Linked DNA regions of Homo sapiens: all the other regions are linked to region 2. Evidence: promoter capture Hi-C in 16 types of primary human blood cells and fetal thymus (Javierre and others, 2016). All regions are on one chromosome and are shown on one strand. Each heading gives the region's core, a stretch centred on a gene start or on the middle of the fragment in contact. The rest is flanking DNA. Distances are from core to core; before and after follow the strand shown. Region 1 overlaps TMPRSS4 (transmembrane serine protease 4). Region 2 holds the start of FXYD6-AS1 (FXYD6 antisense RNA 1). Region 3 holds the start of LOC105369517 (a long non-coding RNA gene). Region 4 overlaps SCN4B (sodium voltage-gated channel beta subunit 4).

Region 1 (6,714 bases), core at 3,601-6,100, 280 kb after region 2:
ACAGCATGAGTAACACAGTGAGAAAGGTTGGAGGAGAGAGCGCCAGGACCTCAGAACTCAGGCATTAGAGGAGCCCCTTCCCCAGCCCTCCTTGAGGTTTCGTTGGGCAGGTTTCACTGAGGAAAAAGGGTCAAATCCCTTTTTCGAATTTGACTTCTTGTAAGTGCCAGAAGACTGCCCCTTCTCCACCATCCCTGCCTCACCATCATCTTTCCTCCCAAGGCAGTGACATCCAGCACCCCGATCCCTAGGGCCCTGGGGACCCAGCCTTTGGCAAAGTCTCCTCAGGCTTGGATCAGGCCTGAACCCAGCTGTCTCTACCCCCAGGAAACATACCGATGTGTTCAACTGGAAGGTGCGGGCAGGCTCAGACAAACTGGGCAGCTTCCCATCCCTGGCTGTGGCCAAGATCATCATCATTGAATTCAACCCCATGTACCCCAAAGACAATGACATCGCCCTCATGAAGCTGCAGTTCCCACTCACTTTCTCAGGTGAGAAGCAGGGCCCAAGGCCACTCAAGCCTCTTACATCAGTTTTCACGCCCACTCTGCTATTAGCTCACTGACCGCCCTTGGCACATAATGTCTCCTCTCAAGTCCTCAGCTTGCCCATTTGTCTCTAATACGTCAGCCTAACATCACTGATGCCATGAGGCCTCCTCAAGCTGTCAGCTAACACCTCCACTCCATTCCCTGCCAGAGATTCTTCCAAGGCCTGTCTTCCCTATGTGGAGCCCCTCGAGTGAGAACTGGAGTTTCATCCAATCTTGGAGTTTTAGGAGACCTTTTAAAAAGATTATCGAGCTAATTCCCCACCACTGACCAACACGCAAGAGCCTGCTCAGTATCCCTGCCAAGGAGTCATTGTGCCCCTGTTTGCTCTCCTCCAGGGGCAGGGAACCCATTACCTGTGAGGCAGCCCACAGAGTCTTTGAACAGCTCTGTTGGATGCCTTGTGCTTATACTGAAATGTATTTAGATCAGGATTCCCAACTGTGGGGTCCACAAGACACTGGCCCCTTGGAGAAGAGAGGATTCCATTGTCAAATAAGTTTGGGGAACATTTTCATACTACAGCTCCCTTCTTGGAACACATTAGTTTATTAAAGGTAGGAGAAGTTTTTAAAATAATCTGTTTTATTGCGTTTAACCTACATTTTTTAAATTTATTTGACCACAGAATCCTTTTTTCATGCTACTTCTATTAGCATCCCATAGAACAAGTGTTCTAGAGACCCTGGTGTGACCCCTTTCAGAGAGCTTAACTGCCAGGCTCTCCTGAGCCCTGGTGTGTGTTTCAAGATTTGTGCCTGGGAATTGTTTTAATCAGGTATGGCAAGGTGACAGATACAGACACAGCTATCTTTGAAAGAAGAGTTTATTATTTATAATTCCTGAGAGAAAGGGACATACCCCACCCCCCAACACAGGGACACCCGGGGAAGCAGCTGGGTCCACCAGGAGGCAGGAGTGAGGGGAAGGCATGGCCCAGAGCCACCTGTGGCTTCCATGGGCAGGTCTGGCCAAGGTAGGGTAGGCAAGATTGAGCATGCTCAGGATTGGATAGTGTGGACAATTCTCTAGGCTATAGATGTCAGCCTCTGGTTGTCTAGTATCTGTCCCTGGGGTGATTTAGGGCAGGGAAAATATTGGCTTGGTGTCTGAGAGTCAGATAAAGGAAGTGGTTGGGGATATGGGCTTTGGGTTGGCTGGTTTGCCTATTAAAGGCGTGCCCAAAGCCAAGTTGTTTACTATCTGCAGGAATTAGCTAACCCAGTCTCTCCCAGACCAGCAAGATCCCCATAATCATAAAGCATCATAATTTACAGAAAATTAACACTTATGATGAATAAAAGATCTCCTTCTTCCTCTGTGCTCCTGGCAGGCACAGTCAGGCCCATCTGTCTGCCCTTCTTTGATGAGGAGCTCACTCCAGCCACCCCACTCTGGATCATTGGATGGGGCTTTACGAAGCAGAATGGAGGTAAGTCCTGGGTGCAGGACCACAGGGCAGGAGATGCCCTTGTATGAGGGAGCAGCTTCCAGAAGTAATGGGAAGGAGGACCACCCTTCAGAGAAACCCATCCTGGAGGACCAAGCACCAAGGCGCCAGGCAGAAAGCAAAGTGGTTTGGCAATCCAGGGCTGGGGGATAGAAGGCAAGGATGGGAATGTGAGTGTTTTTACCCTCCCAGGGAAGATGTCTGACATACTGCTGCAGGCGTCAGTCCAGGTCATTGACAGCACACGGTGCAATGCAGACGATGCGTACCAGGGGGAAGTCACCGAGAAGATGATGTGTGCAGGCATCCCGGAAGGGGGTGTGGACACCTGCCAGGTGGGGCCTCCAAGAATCATGGGGAGTTCTAAGAATAGGGTTTAGGTCCTAGAGAGATGAGAAAACCCAGAGGCTGCATGCCCTACAGGAAGCCTTGCATATCATGGGCACTCAATGTGTGATGATGGGAGGAAGAGAGGGAGGGAAGGAAAGGATAGTCAGATAAAAGTGTACCAATAGATGAGTGGGTGGATGGATGGATGCAGACAAGCAGAGAGATTTCAAATGTCTCTTTCACATTCGAAGATGATGTTACTGGCCTGGCATGGTGGCTCACGCTTGTAATCCCAGCACTTTGGGAGGCTGAGGCGGGCAGGTGATTTGAGGTCAGGAATTCAAGACCAGCCTGGCCAACATGGTGAAATCCCATCTCTACTAAAAAGAATACAAAAATTAGCTGGGCGTGGTGGCACGTGCCTGTAATCCCAGCTACTTGGGAGGCTGAGGCAGGAGAATTGCTTGAACCCAGGAGGCAGAGGTTGCAGTAAGCTGAGATTGCGCCACTGCACTCCAGCCTGGGTGACCCAGCAAGACTCCATCTGAAAACAACAACAACAACAAAGATGACATTACTCATCCACCCCACCCACCCTTCTCACTAGCTACAGAATGATTAGCCCCTTGAGGTCAGGAATCCCAGGTCTATTTTCTCTGTGACTCTCCCCAAGCTGCTGAACTACACTAGGAAAGAATTACCGCCTGCAGAATGCTGGAAGCACATCTGTGTGTGCCCTCACCCCGGCCTCATTGGCCATCAGGACTGCTTAGCAATCCCTGTAGACCTTCTTCCTCCCCCATACTTCCAGAGGATCTTCTGAACTATTTTCTTTTTTTATTTTTTCTTTTATGTTTTTTAACAGAGACAGGGTCACTATGTTGCCCAGTCTGGTCTCAAACTCCTGGGTTCAAGGGATTCTCCCACCTCAGCTTTCCAAAATGCTGGGATTACAGGCATGAGCCATCGTGCTTGGCCTGAACCATTTTCATTAAAACCCCTACCCTACTCTCACCTCCATTTCCAGTCATTAAATTCCTTCATTTAAGAGGCATCTCTTAGTCATCGCATGTGTGCCATGAACATGGTAGTCTTTGGAGACCCCTCAGGGAGCTCACAGTGGTTGGGGGAAAGGGGGGCATTAAACAGACATTTAAGCTATAGTTTTGGGTTCAGAGGGAGGAAGCCCCAGGGGCTAAAACAGCTGATAAGGACTCCCAGATAAGTGCACTTTTCACTATCTGGCATTTTCTTGTTTTGTTATTTGCTTGTTCACTGTCTCTCACCCCATTTGATCCTAAGCTTTCTGAGGGCAGGGATCTTTGTTTTTTTTCATCAGTTGGATCCCAATTGCTTAGAACACTACCTGGCACAAAATAGGCACTCTATAAGTGATTACACAAATTTTGGAACGACTAGGTTAAACAATGATAACCAGGCTTTTTTTTTTTTTTTTGAGACTGAGTCTCACTCTGTTGCCCAGGCTAGAGTGAAGTGGTTTGATCTCGGCTCACTGCAGCCTCCGCCTCTGGGTTCGAATGATTCTCCACCTCAGCCTCCTGAGTAGCTGGGATTACAGGTGCCTGCCACTATGCCCAGCTAATTTTTGTATTTGTAGTAGAGACGGGTTTCACCATGTTGGCCAGGCTGGTCTTGAACTCCTGACCTCAAGTGATTCACCCGCCTCAGCCTCCCAAGGTGCTGGGATTACAGGTGTGAGCCACCGCTCCTGGCCAACAACCAGGCTTTTTTAAGACATCACTCAGAGCCTTTAATTTGCTAATGTGAGTTGTGAATCTCTGAGAGAAGGCTAACGGCATGCTTGCAACTTACTTGTCCACAGACAAGCCTTTCTGCCCCAGAAGAGAAGACCATTCTAGGGTGCTAATGAGCAAAGAGGGTGAGGGTGGAATATCGGAGAGCAGCAGGGAGTGCAGGGGAACAGATAGGCCAGTTCAGGGAGCAGAGAAGGAGAAGCCCCCCCACCTCACCTGCCCTCCCCAGCAGTCTCTGTTCTGGTCTCTCACAGGGTGACAGTGGTGGGCCCCTGATGTACCAATCTGACCAGTGGCATGTGGTGGGCATCGTTAGTTGGGGCTATGGCTGCGGGGGCCCGAGCACCCCAGGAGTATACACCAAGGTCTCAGCCTATCTCAACTGGATCTACAATGTCTGGAAGGTAAGGTACCTTTGCCCTACCCACTGTGCCTTCCCTCCAGTCCTCTACCTGGGGGGTGCCAATCCATCCTCAGGTTTGATTTAAATGGTTCTGACAACTCTTTACATCCCAAATAACTTTCCCTCCAAGCAAGGGACAGCCTGAGATTGCACTATTAAGGCTGAAATTCCTTAGGTCAGAGATTTCTGATAAATGCAAATACCTTAGGGAATAGAACACACCAAGCCTTTCTTTCTCTTTTCTGACAGAATGAGACTATCAGATCCTTTCTAGAGAGAAGATTCTGATAAGGAAGAGAGTGGAAAGGCTCATGAGACCTCCTGGCCCTCTGCAGGGTAGGGAGAGAAGCAAAGTGTTTCAGAAAAGGAAGACTCACGTTACACATGTCACCACTTTGTCCAGTTTCAGATAATCTGACTTTCTCTTCATCGGTCTCTCTTATTCTAGGCTGAGCTGTAATGCTGCTGCCCCTTTGCAGTGCTGGGAGCCGCTTCCTTCCTGCCCTGCCCACCTGGGGATCCCCCAAAGTCAGACACAGAGCAAGAGTCCCCTTGGGTACACCCCTCTGCCCACAGCCTCAGCATTTCTTGGAGCAGCAAAGGGCCTCAATTCCTATAAGAGACCCTCGCAGCCCAGAGGCGCCCAGAGGAAGTCAGCAGCCCTAGCTCGGCCACACTTGGTGCTCCCAGCATCCCAGGGAGAGACACAGCCCACTGAACAAGGTCTCAGGGGTATTGCTAAGCCAAGAAGGAACTTTCCCACACTACTGAATGGAAGCAGGCTGTCTTGTAAAAGCCCAGATCACTGTGGGCTGGAGAGGAGAAGGAAAGGGTCTGCGCCAGCCCTGTCCGTCTTCACCCATCCCCAAGCCTACTAGAGCAAGAAACCAGTTGTAATATAAAATGCACTGCCCTACTGTTGGTATGACTACCGTTACCTACTGTTGTCATTGTTATTACAGCTATGGCCACTATTATTAAAGAGCTGTGTAACATCTCTGGCATAGGCTAGCTGGAATGCTTGATAAGAACTGAGCTGGGATGATTGAACTTTCATTCTTTGGCTTGGGGAGAAAAGAAGTCCTGGGGAAGCAATTGAGTCTCAAAGTAGAGGCAGGGGAAAAAAGAGTTAGGGAGACCAGATCTGCTGAGTGGCAGCAAGAGTGAGCTGCAGATTACAGAAACCAGGGTGAGCAAGTTTGAGTCCCACACAGGGCCTTCTCCCTTTGCCTCTTTCCCTCCCTCCCTGCCTGTGATAATCAGCCAGGAGCCAGGGATAACCTATGACTTGGGAAAGAGATGAGTTAGGCAGTCAAGGGTGACATTCAATCAGGGATCCACAAGTGGCTGGAAAGAAATGCTGGTCCTGTGTCCTAACTTTTTCCGCCTGGAGAGCCCTCAGTGTGGCTTCTTACATTTAAAAAACAAAAAGGATCAGCTGCCAGGTGTGAGGCAGTCCCCAAGCTGAGTTGTGAGGATGTAAGCATGAATAAGTCCCTGCACTCAAAATGGTCAAAGAATTAAACCCCATGGACTTTTTTGGCATCTGTATGAAAGCTTGGGTTTTCTGAGGACTGTCTTGCTATAGTTAAGTCAGATCCTAGATGAAATATACTTGTTCATACTGTACTAGGTTCTTAGGAAACAACAGAATTCCTCAAATGCCAAAAACAAAGAAAATAGAAACCCAGAAAACAAAACAAAATAAAACAAAACCATCAGAACTGTGAGTGGAAACTAAGGTGATGATCTGGGAGCAATACACTAAAATCTTGGGTCGAGACCTATATGAAGGCTGGCAGTGGAGCTAAACCTGGACACACTGAAGACAAGGGAGCTGAACCAGGGCTCCTACATGAAGCAGGGATAACTGATGGCAGTAAATGTGGTCTCAAATTGCAGATGGTCTGGAGGAAAATTTCCCAAATTTAGAGCCTCAGGATTCCCAAAGATCCTCCAAATATGAGCTCACAATCAAAGATCAGAGACGTTGAAAAATAAAAAACACCTTAAGTGGGCAGCATAAAAAACAGCTAATTTAGAACCCCAAAGGCTTCAGATGTCAGAATATTAGAGACTTATGATAATAAGCAATATTTGCAGAGTATTTGTATGTGCCAGACACTATTGTAAGTGCTTCATCATGTACTGATTCATTTAATACTCACAGAAATCTGTGAGATGGGTATTATTCTTATCCTC
Region 2 (6,592 bases), core at 3,284-5,783:
GAGAAGCAGAGTTAGGAGGGGCTGGCTCTGGCCCCAGCCTCTGACCCGGGCTCTGGTCACTCTGACTCCCGCCTCTCTGTCCCTCCTTTGCAACACTCCCTGTCCTGAGGGGAGGACTCATGACGTCCCAGGGAGCCCTCTCAGGGCTGAAATAGAGACCAGGAGGTCTAAGAGGTGCTATTTGTTATCAGGATGGGCTGAGATCGGCGCTGGGGCCCCTGAGCACAGCCCTGACTCCAGGCTCTCTGCACCTTTCCCTCCAGACCACCCTGGAGGCAGGGCCAGACCTGTCCTGGGGTGGATAACAGCTCGGCTGGCAGGCGGGCCTGTCCCATGCTCCCAAGTGGAAACCTGCCCACTCAGCCCAGAGCGGCTGAGTGGAAATTCCCCAAGCTGGGGTTAGAGAAGTTTACAAACCTCGGGACTGGGTGAGACTTAGAGGTACCTGGTCCAAACATATTCTAAGTGGTCCAGAAAAGTGGAGCTCTCAGCCAAATCCCCCCCACCCACACCGCCAGTATACACACTCTGTTCCCTGCCCGCCACCAGTGTTGTGAAGGAAGGCATCTCTATCTCAGAGCCCGGTGTGATTGATGGTCCAACCAGAAAGGACACCAAAGCCATCCCATCCCAACCCCTCCCTTTAAAAGTTGCTCCCTCTCCTGCTCAAAATCCTCAGAGAGGGCTCGGATGATACGCAAAATCTTTGTGTGTCCAAAAAAGAAGCCCCTTTTTTTTTTTGAGATGGAGTTTTGCTCTTGTTGCCCAGGCTGGAGTGCAATGGCGCGATCTCAGTTCACTGCAACCTCTGCCTCCTGGGTTCAAGCGATTATTCTGACTAAGCCTCCCAAGCAGCTGGGATTACAGGAGCCGCCACCACACCCAGTAATTTTTGTATTTTTGTATTTTTAGTAGAGACCGGGTTTCGCCATGTTGGCTGGTCTCAAACTCCTGACCTTAGGTGATCCGCCCGCCTTGGCCTCCCGAACTGCTGGGATTACAGGCGCGAGCCACCGCACCCAGCCAAGAAGCCCTTCTCATTCTGGCTCTAGGCACCTGTGAGCTGGTCCCCCACCTCCCCGCCCTGCTTTCTGCTCCAGCCATGCTGGCCTTCTTGACACCCCTCACCCTCCAGGACCTCCGCACCGGCTGTTCCCGCTTCCTAAATGCTCAGCCTCCACAGGGCTTCCTGCTCGGTACACGCTGCCTTCAGGGCTTTCTTCAAAGCCCTGATTCTGGACATCCCTGTATAAAATGTTCACACCCACTGCCTCAGCCTGGCTTTTCCTCTGTGGCACTTGTTCTTAACTAAGGTATGTATTTCCCTTATCTTGTTTGTCCCTCTCCCAACTAAAATGTAAGCACCAGGAGAGCAAGGATTTTTGTTTGTTTGTTCATTCCCCCATGCCTGGAACAGTGCATCGTGGGACCCAGTTTTATTAAATGAATGAATCAGTCCCAGGCAAAAATCAGGCAAAGATGGGGACAGGATAGAGGGGAAATCACTTCTCCCATGCTGCAGGCAGACCTAGGACTTGCCTCAGGCAGCCTCCTTCCATGCTGTCGCCTGCCCTGTGAGGAGTCACAAGACCCGATTTGCCCTCACAGAGGCAGCAACCCTCACCTTGCTGACAGCTCCCCCAGAGTCCCTCTCGGGGTTCTCTCTCCCTCCTCTTGCACCCCATCCCCCCACTCCCCTAACCTCCCCTTCCTTCTCCAGCCCAGCAGCAATTTTCAGAAATTGTCCTGTTTGTTCTTTGGGGGAAGCCCAGGCATTTGTTAAGTCAAGCAGGTCCCACCCCTCTCGCTTCACTCATGTTTAAGTCCTTCTCAGACTTCCTTCCTGTCCTCCCCCAGCTAGCTCAGGTCATGGGTCCTAGCTAGCACTGGGGACAGGGAACCCCTCTCTGAGACACCTGCTCTCCTGCAGAGAGGTTGCGGCCCTTCCACCTGTGGCCCATGTTCCTGAGAGCAGCTCAGTTCAGGAGGGTCTCTCCTCCTAGACACCACGCAAGGCACCCTGAGGGCCAGACACACCCATGCATAAATCCCCTTTCATCCTGAGACTTTGCTGAGGACTGCCTGACCCTGGGCAAGGGCACCCCTCTGGGTCTCCTCCCACCTGTAAAATAGGGTAATAACACCTACCTTGCAGTATTGTTGTGGGAACAGAGGCAAGGTAGGTCAAGCGTTTGGCCAGAGAAGGTCCTAAAAACTGATGGCTGTGTTTTCCTTACTCCGAACTGAGCCCCCCAGGAGACAAGAACACTCACAGCAATCCCTTCCCTTGGCTCAGTCCCCAGTTGCGGTGATCTCTAAAGCAGGCCTCTGGGAGCACCCTGCCCTGGTATGATCCTGCTGGCCACAACTCACCCTGCATCTCCAGCCTCCCTTTCTTCTCCACACAAAACCAAGAAACCTCCTTTGTCTAATGGTTCCAGGATGGAGACAAAGGAGCATCCAGCTGTGCTCTCCTGTTCTCTGCAAGACCCAGAGCTCTGGGAGATGTTGGGAGGTAGAGGCAGTGCCCACTCCTGGATGCGTCAGCACTGTCACAGCTGATGGGACCGTGCCCTCAGTGGCGAGGCCTCCATCTCCCCTGTCTCCCCTAGGCAGGCCTCCCTTTTGTCTCCTGACTCCTAAGTCTCAGGGCAGTCATTTGGGGTGGTCGTTGCTGGGTTGGTGGGGCAGGGAGGAAATAGGCTGGAATCCAGCTGACCTCTGTTTTCCTGGTGATCAAAGGCAGAGGCCCTCACCACCAGCTTCCCAGAATGGGGTTCTCCAGCTCCGCCAGCTCTGGCCTTTGTGGGAGTTTACAGCCTTGAACTCCAGGTCCCCAGATCAGTTCCTCCTGGTGTTGGCTTGCAGCTGGAAAGGGGCTCCAATGAAGCAGAAGCCAGAAGCACCTAGAAAGCCATGACCCCAGGCCCAAGTCAGTCCTCAGCTGCATAACCCGTATGGCCACTGGGCAGGGAAAGTGGCAGTTCCCAAGCCCCATTTGTCCCACTCAGAGGTCCTGAATCCTGAGGAACGCTGGCTCCTGCCTCCTGCTATGGTTGCAGGTGCCAGGTCCCTGGGGTCTTATAAGGCAGGGCTGGAAGGAGGTGGGCCCCAGAGGGTCCATTCCTTAAGTGTTGGCTTCAAGAAGGCCTGAGCCATGGTGCACAGAGGTTCTGAGAACTGCCAAAGGGCAATGTACTCTGAGAGTCAAGGTCACCAGCTGGTGACAAGGGCAAACCCATTTGACCCACCTCCCCCACAGTGAATGCCTTGGAGAGAAATGCATTCTTGACTGTTCTCAGAACTCACATCCAGGCTTGAACCACAACAGAGCCCATTCCTCTCCAGCTTTTCTTGGTTTTCTCCTCCCAGTAACCAAACTCCCTCTCACCTCTGGGAGAGGCTCGCCACCTCCGGGAAGACCTCGCGGAGCAAGCCCACCCCTGGTTACTCTTACCTTCCCTCCACCACCTTCCGGATGCCACTGACATGGCTTGAATGGCCAGCATGTGGCCGTGTCACCATTCTCTTCATTTATAGCACAGATTGCCAAGTCCCTGGCCTCCTTGAGGCCTCAGGTCGGGTAAGCTGTTAAACGTTTGTACCTGCACTGAGCCTGGTGCCCACTCTCCACACTTGGCAGCAATTCCACCCTATTCCAGGGTCTCAGTGGTTCCAAAGAGCTGCTTAGAGCCTCCCAACAATTCAGCCAGGCAGGCTGTGAGATGCCCATTTTACAGAGGACACTGCAGGTGGTCTGCAAACAGGTCAGAACATGAACCCAAGTCTAACAGAGACAAGAGGAACCCGGCCATCAGAGAATGAGGAGACAAGGAAATGGATAGTGATGCCAACATTTATAGCATAATGGCTACATGGAGAATTGTCACGGTGCTTCGATGTCCATTGTATCACTTTGACCCTGTGAGATAACAGAAAACATCTTGATGCATTTATTTTATAGGTGATGAAACTGAGGCTTAAGTGGCTTTTCCAGGGTTACACAGTGAGCAGGAGGCCCAGCTTACCCCAAAGCTAGGAAGGACTTGATTATTCAGAAAAGGAAACTGACAGAGAGGCTGGGGTCTTTCCAAGCTCACACTGTTAGAGCAGAAGGGACCTCGGGGATGTTCTGAGCCTCAGGCTCTACCAGACTGCCTCCAAGCCCAGCTCAGAGGTAGGAAACCGTTCTTCTGGATAGTGCAGGGGGGCCCACCCCCTCCAGTCCCTGCCATCCAGGTCCTTCAGGACATGCGATCACAGCATCACCTGCTCTGCCATCATTGCCTTGGCAGGTGCCCCACTGTTGTGCAACCAGGCCCGGGGCTGGGCTGGCCCCATCAGATCAACAGCTGGTTGGCTTGAGCCGGCTGAGTCTGCCCCCCTGGAGCTCAGCTGTGACAGCAATAAATCACACTAATGGAGAGAGGTGGCCATTCCTTCTCTGTGGCCTGGAGACAGGTTTTTCCAAAGCTCCTCCCCTGGCTCAGGCAAACACACCTGACCTTTCTCTCGCTGGGCCCAGGGTGAGGCAGAGCAGCCAGGAACAAGGTGGGGTGAACCAGACAGAGCTGGAGTGCTCTCCCACCCCTGCTTTGCCCAGCCTCCCCGCCAAGCCCATGATTCCAAGCAAGGTAAGGCCCTCCTCCCAGAGGAAGGGGCCAACAGCCCGGTGACCTTGGAGTGTGCTTCGCCTGGCACTCCCCTCACACCGCTCCCTACAGCTTGTACTCTGCCTCTGACTCTCTTCCAAGAACAATTTGGCAAGTTCTAATCTACATCTTGCAAAAAAAAAACAAAAAACAAAAAACAGAGAGGTAGGAGGGCCACAGCACCTGGGGTCCCAGAAGGCAGACTGACCTATTCCTACAGCAGGGGTAAGTAACGCAGAAAACCTCCAGGCAAAGAGACATGGAGATCTTCGAAATGGAATGGGGGGTGGAGGGAGTCACTGGGAGGCAAAAGGTGTGGGACACCTGAGGTTACTGAGACAGGGAACTTGGGATTCCCTTCTGGGAAATGACACAGCATGGCAGCTGTCCTTCTTATTCAGTCAAGCTACATTGCCTCATTAAACCAAATCACAGCTACAAACCAGTGCCACATGCCTGGAGGCTGAGTGGACACTCCTGGTCCTCCTCATGGAGATATATAGCACTCTGAGTTCTGATCCAGCTCATCTGTGTGAAGTCCTCAAACAAGCACATAGTAAGTGCTCCATAAACTTCAGCTGCTCATTTTTTTTAATTATTACCATTTTGACCATCATTTCTTCGATTGTTCTTCATGTGTCTTGTTTCCAGACCATTAGACTCCCACAGGAGGCTCCTTGGAGCATGGTCCAGCTAGTTTATGTCTTGAAGGGGCAGCCATGCTCCAGGTGCAGTCTTGGGAGCCATCTGATCACTGTCCCTTCTTCTGAGCATCTGCCTGCTGAAGGAGGCTAGGCCATGTGCTGACAAGCACTATGGACAGACAGCCCGGGGTCAAGTCCTAGCTCCTCCATCCCCCAGCTGTGTAACCTGGACCAGGACGATTGTATCTCTGACCAATCTCAGAATATAGCTGGATTACTAGGAGGAAAACTAAGTGAGTGCTTAGAGGCGGGCAAAGTAAGGATAACCATTTGTAGATGATGTGCTAGAGATGCTGACCATCATTCCTTACTCTTAACATAATTATTATGAGAAAAATTAGAACCTCCTCATTGGACTTCCTTATTCCTATGTCGAAGTATAATGTTCTGTTTTTACTAACGTATGGGGGGCGGCACACACAAAGCTTTGCATGTCTAGGGCCTCTAGGGATCTCAGCCTGGCCTCGCTATGAAATTTCTGCAAGGCCTGTCAATTCCCTGATGTATCACGAGTGTTCCCGAACAATAAGCTCATTTACCAGGTCTTGCTGTGACCAGATAGTTTTTAATCGCCATGATCACTGGGTTGACAGGTTGAGCTTGAGCTCTACCATAAGCCTGTGTCTTTCCAAAGGCCTGGGGGACCGAAGGCAGAAGCAAGAGCACACGTAGAGAAGGCACCGAGCAAGCGGATCTGTGCGGTTCTTCGGTTCTAAACAACTTGCGGAATCCAGGCGGACTCAGGGCCTGTGTGGCCACTGGGCAGGGAAGGTGGTGGTTCCCAGGCCCATCGAAACCACAAGGAGCACTGACTTCTGTCTCCTGCTATAGCTTCAGGTGCCAGGTTCACTGGGGTCTTAGAAGTTGGGGCTGGAAGGAGGTGGGCCCAGAGGGTCCCGCTCCTTAAGTGCTGGCTTCAAGATGGAAGATATTAAGACGTTCCAGGGGTCGATTCTTTTTTCAAGACCCTAAGATGTTCCAGGCTTCTGTAGAGCAGGCACAGTCCTTGCCCTCCAGGAATTGTATCAATAAAGACACAAAACACTAGAGGCAGAAGCTGCACACAGGCAACCTCCACGCAGAATCTGCCCACATCTGTGTTGGTTTGGCCAACAGTGGTTTTTAGAAAGTTGAGTCAGAGTGTCTTTGGGAGGACACCGTAGGTGACTGCAGGTGCCATGCCCCATCGTCACTCCAGCAGATTCACATATTGGCATTACCTGCCTGGTCTCTACA
Region 3 (6,379 bases), core at 1,472-3,971, 260 kb after region 2:
AAGGTGGGTCATGACCTCAGCACAATAGGGCAGGCGAGTCCCTGGGTGGAGACCTAGACCACAGGGTTCAGAGGGCATAAACCCAGACAGCATGCTCCTTTTAACCTTTGCCTGGCAGAAAGGGCCTGCATTTTTTTGTATGTGAGCCTTTGTGTCAGTGGCTCCTCCATGTGACTCTGTGGCTGTGTGCGTGCTGAGTGCACACATGAAGTGGTGTAAATAGAAATGCCTTTGCGTGTATTTGTGCACATGCGTCGACGGCAGCCTAAGACCACTCTCTCAGAAATATCATAATGTTGATAGCACATATGTAGTAAAGTACTCAAGTCTAAAGTCTACCACCCAGTGAATTTTTGCACATATAAACACCTATGTAACCAATGTTGAAAACAAGATCCAGAAGTTTTCCTATGTTCCAGAAGACTCCACTGTGTTCCTTCCAATAACTAACTGCCCCCCCCAATGGTAACCACTATTCTGACTTCTATCACTATAGATTAACCTTGCCTTTTAAACTTTATATAAGTGAAATCGTACTTTTTGTGACTATTTTCTTCCCTTCATCATTATGTCCATGGAATTCATCCATGTCATTGCACTGAGAATGTTTATTCTTGTCTATTGCTGAATTATATTCTATTATATGAAAATACCAGTTTATCCACTCTACCAGTGACTGACGTTTGGGTTTTTCCAATGTTTAGCTATTACTAATGAAGCGACTATAAACTTTCACACACAGGTTTTTTGCTGGACATTTGTACTCATTTCTCTTGGCTCTATCCTGGAGCACAATTGCTGGGTCAGAGAATCATAAAATACTTGTACGTTTAGCATTAGTGGATTCAGCCAAACCATTTTCCAAAGTATTTGTACCACTTTACACTCCCACCAACAAGGTCTGAGAGGTCTTGTTGCTCCACATCATCATCAACACAGTATTATTAGTCTTTTAAATTTTAGCCATTTAGTATTTATGTAGAGAAATTTTATTGTGGTTTGAATTTGCATTTGCCTGATAAGTAATGATATTAAGCATTGTTTGGTACTTATTGGCCAGTTGAGTATTCCTTTTTGTAAGATGTCTATTCAGAGTTTTTACAGAAATATAGTATCTGTAAACATAGACAAATTATTGACAAAAACAGATAGTAGAGCAGAATCATCTTGAGGAATTCAGCAATTTACACAAAAACCAGCAGCCAGTTGCTTCTACAATTGCTAACCAGTTGCTACTAGTTAAGTAAACTAATAAGTAAACTAATTGAAACAGATCAAACAGGTGCATGACTGAATGTTTCCTGTTGAACCAGGTATTTGGATAACACAGAGACCCCCAACGTAGACTCAGGGAGAAGGGAATGTAGACAAGACCCAAGAACCTCCCGTAGGCTGCTAGCCCCAGCCTGAGAGGCTCCCTGCCTCAACTCACTGACTGTTTTTCCTTCAATTACAGGATCCTGACAGTGATCAACCTCTGAACAGCCTCGGTAAGTTCAGGTCCGGCTTTCATTCGTCCACCTTAGCCTCTGAGTTTCAGCTACCAAGTAGATCCTAAGCCACTCGCGCCTGGCCCTCACCACCACCACCAAAGTGCTAAGTGCCATGAGTGACATCCAGTCACCCGTCCATCCATCACTCAGCAAACATTCCAGGATTCATTCCAGAAGTAGGAGGCCTGGACTCTGGGGAAACAGGACCAACAAACCTAAAATCCCCAAAGCAATGATTCTCCAATTCATTCATTCAGTCACTCTTATCCTTTCAGTAAAACTGTACGTACCTGCCATGTGCCAGGCCCTAGGCTGGATGCTGGGCTATAACACTAATTAAGACAGCTGAAGTCCCTGGTGTCATGGAGTTCACATTGGCCAGAGGCATTTTCATGAAAAATGGCAGTGCTTGCCTGATTTCCAAGGGAAGAAAACTAAGTTAATAAATAGAATGATCCCAAATTTAAGGAGGTATTTTTCTTCCATTACATTTTCTTAAACCATTAATATCTACTCCTGATAGCCTACTGGATCAGCAAAACAAATGAGCAAGGAACACGTTAATATGAACAGATCAGTAAGAAAATGGCCAATCCTGCTTGACGGGCTATGTATTTCTCAGTTCTGGGTCATGAGTTAATAATGACCACAAATGAAGTAATCTTTAGCAAGTAAAATGGTGCCTAGTTTATACTTTGGAATTCAATATAAGAGTAGGCCATGGTGTCCCCAAGGAACACCAGGGTGCCAACTGCTCCGCCACCTGAGCAAGCCTGAGAACTCTCAAACCAGAAAACAAGCTGAATTTGCTCGAGGACCAGGGAGTGAACGTGACTATGCAGAACTGGGGTTGGTGAAGACTAGCAGTGGAAGTCCATTTGGCTCAGAGAAAGAGGCCAAATTACACTGGCTTTGAAAGATATAATCCAGATGTGGAAGTCTCTTGTAGGCCCTCGAGTAAGAAGTGACAGGATGAAAGCAAGCTTTTAGGAAGCTCTGTCTAGCTGCAGTGGGCAGGACAGGCTGGAGGGAGGAACAACAGCCGGCAAGGAGGCTGTTCATAGCTCACTGGGTTCGTTAACTTAAACTAGGTATGAAAGCTCGTTCCTTCCTGATGGGGGAAGCAGATGCTCCCTGAGAATGTCTGGTCTTGGACACAGGAACCCATGGCTCCCCATGGGTCACTCACTCTTGGAGAAAACAAACAAATCTCATGTTCCCAGAGGTAGATGCTCAATAAATAAATCATGCATGAATTCATGAACAAAATGTCATCATGGCCATGGCCACAGGAAAGAGGACAATTCTGAAGACTGGCTGCTGGAACTTTAAAAACAGTATTGGCAAACATTACTGATAAGCTACTTTGTGCCAGGTCATAGTTCACAGGCAATACCATTCCAGTCCACATCCCCACTGCGTGGCCTCTGTGTCTGAAGTTAAAACATTCTTTTGGGGAAACACAAAGTGTCCTAAGCTTTCCTTTGTTAACAGATTCATTAATACTAGCATTCATTGGGCGCCAATCTCTAGCAGGATGCCATTCTCCACTTTGGAAGAGCTGAGGAAAGAAATAGAGTCAGACATATGATTAGCCATCATTCAAGGCAGAATAAAATGTGACCTGTAAGAAAGGTAGAAGGGGCCGGGCATGGTGGCTTATGCCAGTAATCCTAGAACTTTGGGAGGCCAAGGTGGGGGTGGATCACTTGAGCCCAGGAGTTTGAGACCTGTCTGGGTAACATGGCAAAACCCCATCTCTACAAAAAATACCAACGTTAACTGGGTGTTGTGGCACATGCCTGTAGTCCCAGCTACTTGGGAGGATAAGGTAAAAGGATGGCTTGAGCCCAGGAGGTGGAAGTTGCAGTGAACCAAGATCATGCCACTGCCACTGCACTCCAGCCTGGGCAGCAGATTCCATGAATGAAAGGGAGAGAGAGAGGAGAGAAAAAAGAAAGAAAGAGAGAAAGAAAGAAGGAAAGAAGGAAAGAAAGAAAGAAAGAAAGAAAGAAAGAAAGAAAGAAAGAAAGAAAGAAAGAAAGAAAGAAAGGGAGAGAGAAAGGAAAGAAAGAAAGAGAAAGAAAGAAAGGAAGGAAAGAAAGAAAGGAAAGAAAGAAAGAAAGAAAGAAAGAAAGAAAGAAAGAAAGAAAGAAAGAAAGAAAGAAAGAAAGAAAAGGAAAGAAAGGAAAGGAAAGGAAAGGAAAGGAGGTAGTAGAAGGGACGTACTTAAGAGAGCAGAGCCAAGAACAATTCATCTGTTCAGGTGACAAATATTTGTTGAGCAATTGCTGTGGACCAAGCACTGTTCTAGGCACCAGGGACTTAGCAGTGAACAAAACAGACAAGTTCTGTCTTCAACGAGTCTTCATTTCATGGAGGGGCGGGAGGAGACAGAAAATATACAAAATAAGTCAAATATAGAGTTTGTTAGAGGTGATGCGTGCTTTGGAAGAAAAAAAAAGCAAGAAAGGAGGATAGGAAAGGTTGGAAGGCTGCATTTTAAATAGGGAGATCCAGGAAGGCCTCACTGTGAAGGTGACAGTGAAGAAAGACTGGGAGGAGGACAGGGAGCCAGTCATGTGGAGGTGAGGGTAGGAGAGCCGGTCCGTTGCTTTCCAGGGTTTCCAGAATTCTTGCCCCATCTCCCCCAGGGCAGAAGTCCCCATGGCACCTCCCCAGCTTATTTCCCACAAGGAGTGGGGGACTTAAAAGAATGTATCTCTGATACTTACTGATATTAACTTTGCCTATGTTTTCCCTTTCCCAGGTTCCTTCTCCTTGGATAACCATGTGCAATTGACAATGTAGTTATTATCACCTCTGTTCTAGGCAGTGATAAGCTCCTACCTGGTCTCCCTAACCCCAGACTCTTTTGTTCCAATCCACCTCCTCCCTGATGAAAGATCCATCTTTCTTTTTGTTTTTTGAGGTGGAGTCTTGCTCTTGTCGCCCAGGCTGTAGTACAATGGCACAATCTCAGCTCACTGCAACCTCCGTCTCCTGGGTTCAAGTGATTCTCCTGCCTCCGTCTTCCAAGTAGCTGGGATTACAGGCATGCACCACCATGCTGGCTAATTTTTGTATGTTTAGTAGAGACAGGGTTTCACCATGTTGGCCAGGCTGGTCTTGAACTCCTGACCTCAGGTGATCCACCCACCTCGGCCTCCCAAAGTGCTGGGATTACAGGCGTGAGCCACCGCACTGGACCAGATCCATCTTCCTAAAATTAATTTGATCCTGTCTCTCCACTGTTCAAAAACTTTCAATGGCTCCTCACTGCCTTCAGGATAAAACCCAGGCTCCTTAGCATAATGTTCAAGAGTCTCCACAGCTGCCTTCACCCATCCTGCCTTCCAACTTGCCTTTATTCCCCTGGTACCCCAGGCACACCAGGCAGCCTACAGGCACCCTCCGTGCCTCCGACAGAGCTGAGCCAGTGCCTCCCTCCCAAACTGCATTTAAGTGCCACCTGCTGAGGGAGGCTTTCACCAGCTTACCTTTGAAGATGTCTCTATTATAACATATATTATCTTCCACCTGGCTGGGCTGGCATCTGTGTCTGCCTCTTCCCCCAGATGGTAATCTCTTTAAAGACAAGGACCAGGCTAGGGACTTGCTGTTTGTGGGATTGAGGATGCATTGATTCACAAGTATTTATTAAGCCTCTACTAAGCACACACTGTGCTGGAGGCCCCTGCCTCCCTGATGCTTAATGTTTAATCAAAAGCTAAGTCAGGAGGTCAGGAAAAGGATAAATGGTGGCACAGTGAATGGGTACGTGCCCCAGGGGCTCAGGCCTCTCTCGGGCAGGCGAGGGTCAGACAAAACCCAGAAATGTCCTAGGACAGGCTCAGGCAAGACACGGGGGAGGTGGCCTGACCTGGGGGCTCCTTTGAGCGGCACTCAGGAAAGATAGGTGAGCCTGGATAAGTAAGAAGAGGCAGGGTAACCACGTGCTGTTGAAGCTAAGCCTAGTCTGCAGGAATAACCCCCCAGCATTAACCAAAACTGTGCTCAAGGCATACCTGTCACCGGCCAGAAGGCAGGAGGCTGTGGAGTTTGGCTCAGGGATCACCAAGTGCTGACTGCATGCTCTTCCCCTCTGCCTCCCATTTTCTTGCAGATGTCAAACCCCTGCGCAAACCCCGTATCCCCATGGAGACCTTCAGAAAGGTGGGGATCCCCATCATCATAGCACTACTGAGCCTGGCGAGTATCATCATTGTGGTTGTCCTCAGTAAGTGACAGCCCGTACCCGACTTTCACCCTCTAAGTAAATGACAGGGCCCAACCCCCACCCCCGCACTCACCCCTGAATAAGTGACAGTCCCCCACCCCTGCCCTCACCCCCTCAGTAAGAGGCAGTCCCACCCCTGCCCTCACCCACTCAGTAAGTGGCAGCCCCGCCCCTCCCATTATCACCTCAGTAAGTGGCAGCCCCTACTTGTCCTTCACCCCCTCAGTAAGTGGCAGCCCCCACCCCCACAGTCAGGGGCAGGTGATCTGCATAAAGCTTTGCAGAAAAAATCATTGGTATAATAAAAGGAATTTGAGGAGAAAAAAACAGAGAGAGAAAAAGAAAGAAGAGAGAAAGAGAGAAAGAAAGAAAGAAAGAAAGAAAAAGAAAGAAAGAAAGAAAGACATGTATCCACCCCCTGCTTTGAAGAGAGCCTTCTTCTAAAAGTGAAAGGGGAGATGAACTCAGCCCCCATCTGTTCCAGACGGCTTCTATCCCAGGTGACTTCTTCTAGAGGGAGAGCACAGTGGCATATGTTCCTAACCCACACATGCAATTTGCAGGGCTGCCACGCCCCCTGCCCCCTCCTTCCCATCTTCTGCAGATTGCAAGCTGAGTGGCTCTGAGCAGCGGCTGGAAGAACAGG
Region 4 (3,298 bases), core at 441-2,940, 310 kb after region 2:
ATTAGCCAGGCGTGGTGGCAGGCGCCTATAGTCCCAGCTACTAGGGAGGCTGAGGCAGGAGAATCGCTTGAACCTGGGAGGCGGAGGTTGCAGTGAGCTGAGATCGTGCCACTGCACTCCAGCCTGGGCAACAGAGCGAGACTCTGTCTCAAACAAAGAAAAAAAGAAAGTTCTCAATAAAGCTTAGCTGTCACCTAGTTGTCTCAACATGGCAGGAAGCAAAGGGCACCAGGTGCTGTTCTCAGGGGTCAGTTCCCAGGCTGTGCCACGCCAGGGGGAGGGGTCCAGGCCAGCAAGGAGTATGCTGAGGACACAGAGTCCCTCTCCCCAGGGCCCCCCAGGCCTTCCTCCCTGAGCTCTCCGTGACTAGAGGTATTAAGGGAAGAACAGAGTCCATGGAAGGGGCAGAGCAGGCAGTGGGTTTGGCTTCAAGGGTGACAGGTCTAGGCAGAGTTTGGTGGGACGGAGCAGAAGACAGGAGGAAGGAGAGATGGTGAGATGGGAAGACACCTCCCGGGAGGCGTTCCACCCTGACCGCTCTGAGCTGGACATGCTCCAACTTCAGTGTGTCCCTCCTCCACAGCAGCGCCCAGGCTGGGCACACAGAACTCCCCAGGGAGCACCTGCATCCCTCTGAGCTTTCTGCTCATGAAAATGGCCAAGTTTTTCACAGCTGCTACAGCCAAACTACATCCTACCCTCACCCTGGGCTTGGGCAGCTGGGTTTGAGGCCTTTGGGAAGGACTGAATATTTTGTCCTCATTAATTTCATCTTGCAATACCTAGTTCCTAGCTCCAGCCTATCAAGATCTTCCTAGATCCCTTTTTCTTCCAACATAGTTACTAGGCTTCTGGAAGTTGATAAATGTGACATCCCTAGTGTACTTCAAATGTTAGTAATAACAATGAACAGGTGGAGCCCTGTGGAATACACTAAAGACCTCTATTCGGATGGATCCATCTCTCTCTCTCTGTCTCTCTCTCTTTCTTTCTTTCTGTCTCTGTACCTAAGGCATAGTTAACCCAGCCAATTACGACCCACCGAACTGTATTCCACGCAGTCCATAATTCTCTACTGAGAACCTACTGGGTACCAGGCACTGTGTCGGAAACGTGCACTCTCCTAGGGCATGTGACATTAAACAAGTGATTGTGACACACTGTGGTAAATAACAGGATGGGGGATGTAGGAAGGAGGGACCCAACCTAGGAAGCCTCCTCATAGGAGTCAGGGAAGCTTTTTGGAAGTATACCTTAAACTTCCAAGCTTCTTTGAAACCAAGAAAGATGAGCAGGAAAAGAGAGAGGGTAAATTCCAGACAGAGGAAACAGCACCCACGTTTCAGAATCAATGGTGAGATGTTGTCCAGTACCTCCCTGTTCTTGAGAAGCCACTGTCTCTGCTGTAATGCAGGCATTCCCCGCCACTCCAAGGACCTCCCTCAGGCTTCCCTACGGTCTGTCCCCTGCCCCCAGGCTCTTCCACCCAATCCCTCCGCCCACCATGGCCAGATCCTTTCTTCTGTGCTCTCTGATCGTGCCAGGGCCCTGCAAGCCCTCGCCAGCTCCCCTGCCGTCGGAAGTCAATCACAGCCTCGACTCCCAGGTCCCCAAGTGTCTGTCCCCAACCCCTTCTGCAGGCTTTTATTCTCCTCCCCACCACCTCACCATACAGCTCTCTCAACAAACAAAAGGCTTGTTCTCCAGACAAGCCCACTTCCCAGACTCTCTGCCTTGGCTCTCAGTGGTGCCTCCATCTGGAAGAATCTTCCCTTTACTCTCCCCAGGGCTTAAGTTATATTAATCTTGCAAGGCCTGCCACAAACACCCATTCAGCCAGAAATCCTTCCCAGAATTTCACCCTGCCCTGAACCCCCACAGCAGCATCGTATCAAACCTCTTTGCTGGCACTGATCCCCTCTACCTTGTATTACATTTATTTGTATACACATTTATTTGTATCTTGTCTTCTTTAGTTAAAGGCAGAATCTCATTCCTTCCATAATTTCCTATAGCATCTGGCACAGTGCCTCAAAAACAGCCACAAAATGAACAGATAAATGAATGAACTCTAGATATGCCCAGTGAGTCAGTAGAACATCCTGGCAATGGTTTAAGCTTTGAAGCCAAATTAGTCACAGTTCAAATCCCAGCTCTATCACTTACTAGCTGTGTGGCCTTGGGCAAGTCACTTCACTACTCTGAGCCTCACTTTGCTCAATTGTAAAATAATAATTATGGGTAGTGTATAAAATTGCCTGGTGGAATTCCTAACATATGGTAGGCATTTGATGAATGACAGGAAGTGGTATTTTCCAGAGCAATCTCCTGTTCTGCCAGTGCCTTATCAGGAGACATCTAGCATTCCTTTTTTTTTTTTCTTTTTTCTTTTTTTTTTTAAGAGACGAGCTCTTGCTAAGTTGCCCAGGCTGGACTCAAACTCCTGGGCTCAAAGCATCCTCCTGCCTCAGCCCCCCAGGGAGCTGGGACTTCAGGCACACACATCCAGCTTAGCATGTCTTGTTTTTGATGAACCCACTGTGGCTCTGAAGGACCACCGTTGTCTTTTCTAAGTGCTTTTAAACCATATATTGACAAATTTGTTCTCCATCCATTGATAGTAAGACTGGTTATGAAAAACAGAACCTAATTAAGCTCCACGCTTTTAGCCCCTCTCACGATCACCAAAACCCTCACAGCCTCTGGCCACAAGGCAGGCAGACAACCCTTGAGCTCTTCATCGACAACCCAGTTCTGGGGTCCTCCCCTGCTCCCCAGCCCCAGCGCTGCTACCTGTATGGCCCCTCCCTACCTCCAACTTCCATCCCCTCTTTCTAGAGTAAGTTCTGCCCTTTACAGCAGAATTCCCTCTTCTCAGCAGAGCAGAATGTTTCAGCAAATAGGGGCAGAGGAGTTCTCCATTCTCTGCATCTCGTGGTTACCATCACCCTCTCTGTTCCAATGGGAAGCCATCTCGTCGCATCTGTCTTGCTCAGAACACAACTTTCAAATGCCTTTTCCCTGCTCTAGTTTTGCAAGATTCACCACATGCTGCTCTGGAGCCTGTCTGATACTGTTCCAAAAATTTGGGGCCTGAGGGTTGCACCCTCCGTACCTCCCCCATCTTCCCTCCCCTTCCCCTTATAGATGTCTATTTTTATACCTGAACTTATCCTAGGGCTCCCTGGGAGGCCATATCTGCCTTTTCAAACTTTTAAAACATCACCTCCATCTGAATTTTCAGAAATTCCTAACAGAAGAATTTTGTTCCCATCTCCCTAGAAGAGTTTTCTCATTT

What was found. The method cuts DNA at HindIII sites, captures the fragments that hold promoters and counts their contacts. A CHiCAGO score of 5 or more calls a contact.
Region 1: a contact is called between a fragment that was not itself captured here and the fragment with the promoter of FXYD6-AS1 in region 2, in 2 of 17 cell types (total CD8 T cells and naive CD8 T cells). The highest score is 6.4, in total CD8 T cells.
Region 3: a fragment that was not itself captured here is called in contact with the fragment with the promoter of FXYD6-AS1 in region 2 in 2 of 17 cell types (non-activated CD4 T cells and naive B cells); the score reaches 6.2 in non-activated CD4 T cells.
Region 4: a contact is called between a fragment that was not itself captured here and the fragment with the promoter of FXYD6-AS1 in region 2, in 10 of 17 cell types (naive B cells, M0 macrophages, M1 macrophages and 7 more). The highest score is 7.8, in naive B cells.

The regions. Positions count from the first base shown.
Region 1 is chr11:118,112,942-118,119,655 of GRCh38, forward strand. It overlaps TMPRSS4 (transmembrane serine protease 4), which reads left to right. Exons shown (of 13, transcript NM_019894.4): 9 at 328-494; 10 at 1,888-1,986; 11 at 2,197-2,339; 12 at 4,364-4,513; 13 at 4,961-6,714. The coding sequence ends at 4,972. Among named protein-coding and RNA genes, the nearest start is that of SMIM35, 29 kb to the left of the region's middle. The HindIII fragment of the contact is 2,433 bases long and covers 3,635-6,067 here.
Region 2 is chr11:117,829,185-117,835,776 of GRCh38, forward strand. It overlaps FXYD6-AS1 (FXYD6 antisense RNA 1), which reads left to right and starts at 4,534. Exons shown (of 3, transcript NR_186291.1): 1 at 4,534-4,877. The region is part of intron 6 of FXYD6-FXYD2 (FXYD6-FXYD2 readthrough); the gene reads right to left. The HindIII fragment of the contact is 9,424 bases long and covers 1-5,779 here.
Region 3 is chr11:118,093,366-118,099,744 of GRCh38, forward strand. TMPRSS4 (transmembrane serine protease 4) reads left to right here. Exons shown (of 13, transcript NM_019894.4): 2 at 1,451-1,490; 3 at 5,620-5,733. LOC105369517 (a long non-coding RNA gene) reads right to left here and starts at 5,613. Exons shown (of 4, transcript XR_007062904.1): 1 at 5,522-5,613; 2 at 4,994-5,081; 3 at 1,784-1,906. The HindIII fragment of the contact is 494 bases long and covers 2,475-2,968 here.
Region 4 is chr11:118,137,521-118,140,818 of GRCh38, forward strand. The region is part of intron 4 of SCN4B (sodium voltage-gated channel beta subunit 4); the gene reads right to left. Among named protein-coding and RNA genes, the nearest start is that of SCN4B, 14 kb to the right of the region's middle. The HindIII fragment of the contact is 851 bases long and covers 1,266-2,116 here.